Linked DNA regions of Homo sapiens: region 1 is linked to region 2. The links are contacts of gene promoters, found by promoter capture Hi-C in blood cells and fetal thymus (Javierre and others, 2016). All regions are on one chromosome and are shown on one strand. Each heading gives the region's core, a stretch centred on a gene start or on the middle of the fragment in contact. The rest is flanking DNA. Distances are from core to core; before and after follow the strand shown.

Region 1 (3,253 bases), core at 231-2,730, 120 kb after region 2:
GCAAGAACTCTGATGGGAAGAATGGGGTGCCTCTGCTGTGGATCAAAGAGCCACACCTCAACTACTCCCCTACTTGCCTGGAGCCCCCTGTTCTCAGTATCCATCCAGGGGCCATAGACTAAGCGGGTGATGCCCCAGCGGATGTTGGCCACGGAGGAGCTGAGGCTCTCCCTTTCTCTGTGATTGGACAGTTGACAGCACCCAAACTCTGGGGTGCATGTGTGTGGAAAGTTGTCAGACTTGAAAAGTGTTCCAAGTTCCCAGTCAGTCACAGAGACAGACTGCCTCTCGGTGGCAGTCTTGGTTGGTTAGCTATTTGCGCGCAAATGTTGTGATCCTGCCATTATAGATTTCTTGTTTCTGTTTTTAGTAATGTAGTGAGTAGCTCCAGGTGCCACATCTACTCACAGATTTATCTAGTATTCTCAGATAGATGTTACAGGGCTTCTTATTCTTTGTAATGTACTCTTTTTAAATCCCTTTAGTTTACCCTTTTTGGATTCCTTAATGTGGACGAATTTCTCTTACGTACAACTGACAGCAAAAGGAAGGGCGAACTTTCTAGTGACAAGGAATCTCTTCCAAGACTTTGTTTTTGCACATTTGAAAATGCCACCCATGGATCAAAATATACCCAAACGTTTTTTACTTTCTTAACAAGACTTAAGAATTGTGTGTAGTGTGGGCAAAATTTGTATGTTGTCTTTTCCCTCAGCTGGAGTTATTGGAACCACTTTGTAGTCAAGACGAAAGCACTGAATTTTGCTTCAAAGAACTGTGTATGTACAAGAGAAATCCTGCATAACCCCATTAGGAGTAGATGGTGCCCGGCCTATCTGTCAGGGAGGCAAAAAAGGCTTCATCCCATCCTTGCCAAAAAATAAGAAAACTGTCTTGGAGAATGGGTCAGAAGCCCCAAACGGCACACACTTTCCAAATTAAAGTGGGCAGGGGCTGCTTTTAGCAGCTGCTGACCTGCAGATTTGTCAAAGCCAGTGACTAGAGAAGGAAGGGAGAAAGGCTGGCTGTTGGCTTGCTCTGAGCTGCAAGGATGGTCTCTAACTGATTAACTGTGAGCAGGTGGGCCTGTGTCTTCAGGTGCTTTGCCAAACTCTTAAAAGAAAGTGTCCAGTGAACTTGGAAGTGGGCCCCTGAGCTGAGCACAGGGCCAAAGCAGCCATGGCAGACACCTGACGGAGGGCACGGGGCTGGCTGACACTAAGTTTGGTGGGACAGTGAGGGGTGGGAGGGGGGTTTCCAGGGCCTGGTGTTGGAGAGTGCAGAGAAATATCTACCTCCCTGGAGGTGTGAAGACTAGGTTTTTCTTCTTCCTTCCAATTAGATTTTCCTTAATTATAGTGATGTCTTCCTTATTCATTTTTCTCTCCCTGCCTCTCACTGCCATAAGAATATCAGCCTGGGGGCAGTCCAGACGCAGCCCTTTGTCATCCTTTCTGTTTGCCTAGTCTCAGCAGACTGTGATCACAAGGCATTGTCTGTGGGATTTTTCCTTTCCCTTTCTTGATCTCTCTTGTGGTTCTAGGTTGTTTGGTTGTTCATTGTTATGGTGGCTTTTTATTTTAACGCCCCTTGAGCCCCATGATGGCTGGTGTCACCCTGTTCTTTTACACTGTTGGGCCAGGTGCTGCTTGTCCTTCTTAGGGCATCATCAATTGCAAATATTTCCTTTTGCTCCCTTTATGAAGATGTTCTTATACCCTTGCTTTCCCATATTTTTCTGGCCAAGCATGCCATCTCCTTTACTCTGGGAACTTACATCCTGAATCCCAAGAGGGGGTCACAGTTTGGAAAAAGTCATCAGGGATTCTGGAACTAAGTCTGATAAAAGATTCCAGTGAAGCCCTGTTCTGAGAACGAGCAGACTGCAGGGGAGGCCATGGGATTCCCCAGGCCAGTGTCTGTGCTGATCCTTCAAGGGTCTGCAGGTATGCAGGTGGCCTGGGCTGCTCGGCAGATACTTTGCTGATTCCCAGCTGAGGGGAGCATGGTGGCGATTGCTCAGCCATTTTCTGACAGACACACAGACCTGCCTTTTCTCCCCCAAGTATACCGTACCCTCCTGTGAGACAGTGTGTGCAGGCACCACCACCTTAATCCTGCTGTTGCCTGACATGCTGATTCTCATTTATTATGCTGCATCAACACATTAGAGGTACAGGAGCGGCTCAGTCATGAAAAAAGAAGGTCTTTTGCCCCATTTCTTTATTTCAGAGATGTGGGCTTTCAGTGGGAATTTGCTGACTCCTACTTTATAGGCTGAGTCAATGAGGGAAGATGACTGGCGTTTCCTCTGTCTAAATGGGAGGTTGCCAGAGCGCTGGCTGGGACTAGGATGTGTAACTAAGATTTCAGTTTGAAATCTTAGATTTCAGTTCACGGCGATAAAGAAGTAGGTGCTGCACACAAATATGTAAAGCAATTGTAGGAAATTTGAAAGGAAAAAAAGAAACCGAAGCCAGTATTTTAATAATTGCTTTTTCTGTGTATTTTGTATTGGGCTGGGGGATAGCATCAAAGGTTGAACTTTTTGAGCTTTCTATGAAAAACCCCAGGACCTTCTTTCTTTGGCCATTTCTATGGAAATGCGATGTCAGATGGATGGTAATGGTGCCCTCCAGTGGCTGTGAGACCTCATTGCGCATTGTCTACTGGAGCTTTAGTCTTCTGAGACGGAGGAAAACTGCTGAATACTCTGGATTCATCTATGTCTACAATGTTGCATTTATGAAAAACTACACTGTGCTAGGCGCATTCTAGGACATGAATATGACCACACCCTCTTTCACCGGGTGTTTCTGTAGCAAGTTTTCATATTCTTTTCAAACAATGGTTTCTCTGCGTTAATTATTGAGGAAAAAAAAAGATGGGGTAAGAAAACTACCCATGCATGATGTAGAGAGCTGTTGATTTGTTTCTGTTTTTTTAAAGGAAAACTATTTGTAAGATGTTGCACTAAAACATTTTATATACACTTCAGAGACCTGTAGTAAATTATGTTGAAAATACGGCTGTTTACATTTACTGCAGTCTTCTATCCTTCTTTCCCCTTACTAACCAGCCCCCTTCCTCTGTGGAACTGTGCTGTGGGAGCCTACAGTTCTGCCCTTGGCATTGGCCTGCTAGGCTCAAGGTCTGTGAATTGCAGTCTTTATTATTACACCCCATAACCTTCAAATGATAAAAACACCTCTTCCTCAAGACACTTCACTGCCATCTGCTGCAACATATAGTA
Region 2 (3,067 bases), core at 42-2,541:
TTTGTCCAAATGATGGAATGACCTCTTTTCCCATCACTTCCCAGATGTCTACCTGGATTCTGGAGCTCCAGGAAAGAACCCCCCTGTGTTCACAATGGCGGTCCCTGGTGCCTGCAGAACTTAGGACAGGGAATTGGGGAGGTGGGGTGGTTAGGGACAAAACCCAAATATGGACTCCTTAAGAGAAATTTCAACCTTAAAAAGAAAGGAATCTGTCCCAGGCAGCAGCACAGTTGCAATTCAGAGGAAGCTGCGGTTCCGAGTGTAGGGTGGTGGACTCTACTGTAATCAGCCCACCCTAATCAGCCACCCTGAAGTCAAGCAGACATCTGGGGTGTCTCACCAATCTCCCAGCCCCTAGAATGCCAAACAACCCTGCTCTGAGGCCCTGTAATATTATCACATGGGGGTCAGGGAGCTACTCTCCTTCAATACTTCCAAGCAAACTGCCTAGAGCCAAAAGTCCAGGAAGACTAAGCACTTTGCAGATTTGAGTGAGAAATCCCCAGGGACTTCCATAGAAACTGGGAGTCTCAGAAATACCTACCAGGTTGGTTTCCTGAGGCAGTGAGCCAGGGAAGGAGGACTGATGGTGATGTTGCCTCATTTGGATACTCCATGAGCCTACGCAAGTTTCACAAAAGCTTCAAAGGAAAACAAAATATCAAATGAATCCAGTAACAACATTCTGGGGAAAAGGCTACCTGGAAGAGGGACAAAAAGGGATGAGTTTCCAGAGGAAGCCTAGGGAGGATGCCTGATGTCACTGCTGACAGAGGAAGCAGGAGGACTCAGCGCTCTCTGGACTGACCAGGCTGTGATGGGTGTGGCAGGCCAGAACTGGACAGGATCATTAAAACCCTCGGAGAGGTTTTCACTGCAAGAAAGAAGAGCTACCAGGCCTGGAGGGGAATAAGATTGGGGACCCAGGCTGCCAGTGAACTTATGCCCACCCAGAAACTCAGCCGCAGAAAAGTGGTAGGGATTATTACACCAAACTGAGAATTACAGTCTCTGCCTCCTCAGCCCCTGGCAGAGCTGCCACACATGGCAGCAGCACTGTCCTGCCTCCAGGTGAAATAGGAGCCACTGGGATCACCCACCACGCTGCAGGAGCTATGAGGCGTACAGGAGCATGGGGAAGGGATATCAACACACATAAACAAAGTAGTTCCATCCTTGCCTTATGTCTGTCTTTTTTATACCTCCGTAGATGTGGCCAACAAAATTGCTCCATAAATTGGACACTGCCCAAAGAAGTCTTTAACGCCATTCCTGGGTTCTTTGTCAAAACCATGGTGGCTTTTCCTGTCTTCACAGAGCTAAGCCCATTGTTTTGTGGTCCCTGCAGCTGTACCTCTGACCTGGGTGGAGCTGCATGTCTAGGCAGGAGAGGCTTGGGAAGCTAGAGTTGTTGCTGGTGATCTGTTTTCAGCTTGGGGCAGGAGCCAGGCTGGGTGCCAGAAGCAACTTTTGATTAGTCATTAGGCACAGACTTTGCTTCAGCCACACAGCCACCTCATTCCTGCCTCAGGGCCTTTGCACTTGCTGTTGGCTCTGCTTGGAGTCCTCTCTCTTGATCTGCACTGGACTTGTTGCTCCCTACTTCATCAAATGTTACCTTCTCAGAGGACCTTCCATGTCCGCCTCCAGTGCAGGCCCTGTTCACACTCTGTCCACTGCTCTGCTGATTTCCTTATGATAGTTACGGCACTCTACAAGGATCTTGTTTATTTGTTTACATGGCCACCGTCTCTTTCCCTACGGGAACGTCTGGAACCTTAGCTCCACCAGGGTCATCTGAAGGCTCCCAGGGTGACCCACACAGACCAGACCCCAGCCTGCACCCCAGGAGGCTCCTGCTCCCCACATACACAGAGCTCACCTCAGCCTTACCTCGCAGATGAGGAAGACTTTGGTGCCCACACAAATGCCCATGTGTGCCACGGCCCAGACAGCAGTGTTCATGCCTGCGAGAGGTCAGGGCAAGCCTATCAGTCCCATGCTGAGATGCGAGGCCCTGGACGCCTCCCCACCTCAGAGGGTGAAGGGGGGAGGCCTGGACACCCTCTCCATCTCAAAGGGCAGGGGGTGAGGGGAAGGTCTGGCAGGGGAGGGATCTTGTCTCTCATGTTCACTACTGTCCACAACCTCCAGCACAATGCTGGGTATATGATAGATAATATCTGTTGAATGAATAAATGAATAAATGCACACAGCAGCAAGCTGTGTGGCTGCTTATCCAATATAACTGTATCCCTGCGCTTCTCCCTTCCTAACATAACTTCAGTCTGCTTGGCAACATGTCCTATTCATGACCACGTGTTTGCCCTAAGCTGTTCATAGTATTCCCTCTTTCCCTGTGCTAATAACTGATTTTTCAAAAGGACCCATGACTTAGTTCTGACCAAAACCATGAGCAGAAGTCTACTAGGTAGGGCCGGGGGTTCTAAAAGAGGTTTTCCCCTTTGTAAAAAGAGAAGCAGGCACTGTCATATTATCTGGATTAGATCTGCTTAGTACAGCTGTGCCTCACTTCTCACTCTGAGGAGAGTTACCGTGAGGAAAAGTGCAACCCGATGAAGATAGCTAGGGTGCGAGCTGGAAGAAACTGGGTCTTCTATGACATTACTGAAGAACTAAATTAACCATCTCTGGAGCTTGCATACCTCTGGATTTCTTGTTATGGAGCATAATAAATTTTCCTATTATTAAGCCATTGTGAGTTGCATCTTTTGTTACTTACAGCCAAAGGCATTTGAACGATAGAGACTATGGCATACACTGTCCCTTAGTCCTGGTGGCTGCCACTGGCCTGTAGAATAGAGCCACGGCTTTTATCCACCAGATATACTGTAGGTAAACATGAATTAATGAATTAGTTTTTTCTTTACTTCATTCATACACCCAACAAACTTCATTGAAAACTTATGTGTGCGGGCACTGCACTAGGAGGAGAGATCAGAAAGGCAAGCTGCCAACCCCGAAGAAGCTCAGAGTCCAGTGGGAGGAAGACTTATCAACAGAGAATGACAATCTAGCATGGACACATTACAACAGAGGCATG

The links. The method cuts DNA at HindIII sites, captures the fragments that hold promoters and counts their contacts. A CHiCAGO score of 5 or more calls a contact.
Region 1: a contact is called between a fragment that was not itself captured here and the fragment with the promoter of LINC02868 in region 2, in 1 of 17 cell types (M2 macrophages). The highest score is 5.1, in M2 macrophages.

What each region holds. Positions count from the first base shown.
Region 1 is chr1:116,574,181-116,577,433 of GRCh38, reverse strand. IGSF3 (immunoglobulin superfamily member 3) reads left to right here. Exons shown (of 11, transcript NM_001007237.3): 11 at 1-3,026. The coding sequence ends at 122. LOC124904385 (a long non-coding RNA gene) reads right to left here. Exons shown (of 2, transcript XR_007066497.1): 2 at 2,684-3,253. Among named protein-coding and RNA genes, the nearest start is that of CD58, 4.8 kb to the right of the region's middle. RefSeq lists an enhancer at 3,104-3,253. The HindIII fragment of the contact is 4,636 bases long and covers 1-3,253 here.
Region 2 is chr1:116,692,336-116,695,402 of GRCh38, reverse strand. It overlaps LINC02868 (long intergenic non-protein coding RNA 2868), which reads right to left and starts at 1,291. Exons shown (of 4, transcript NR_149353.1): 1 at 1,206-1,291; 2 at 548-644. The HindIII fragment of the contact is 15,118 bases long and covers 647-3,067 here.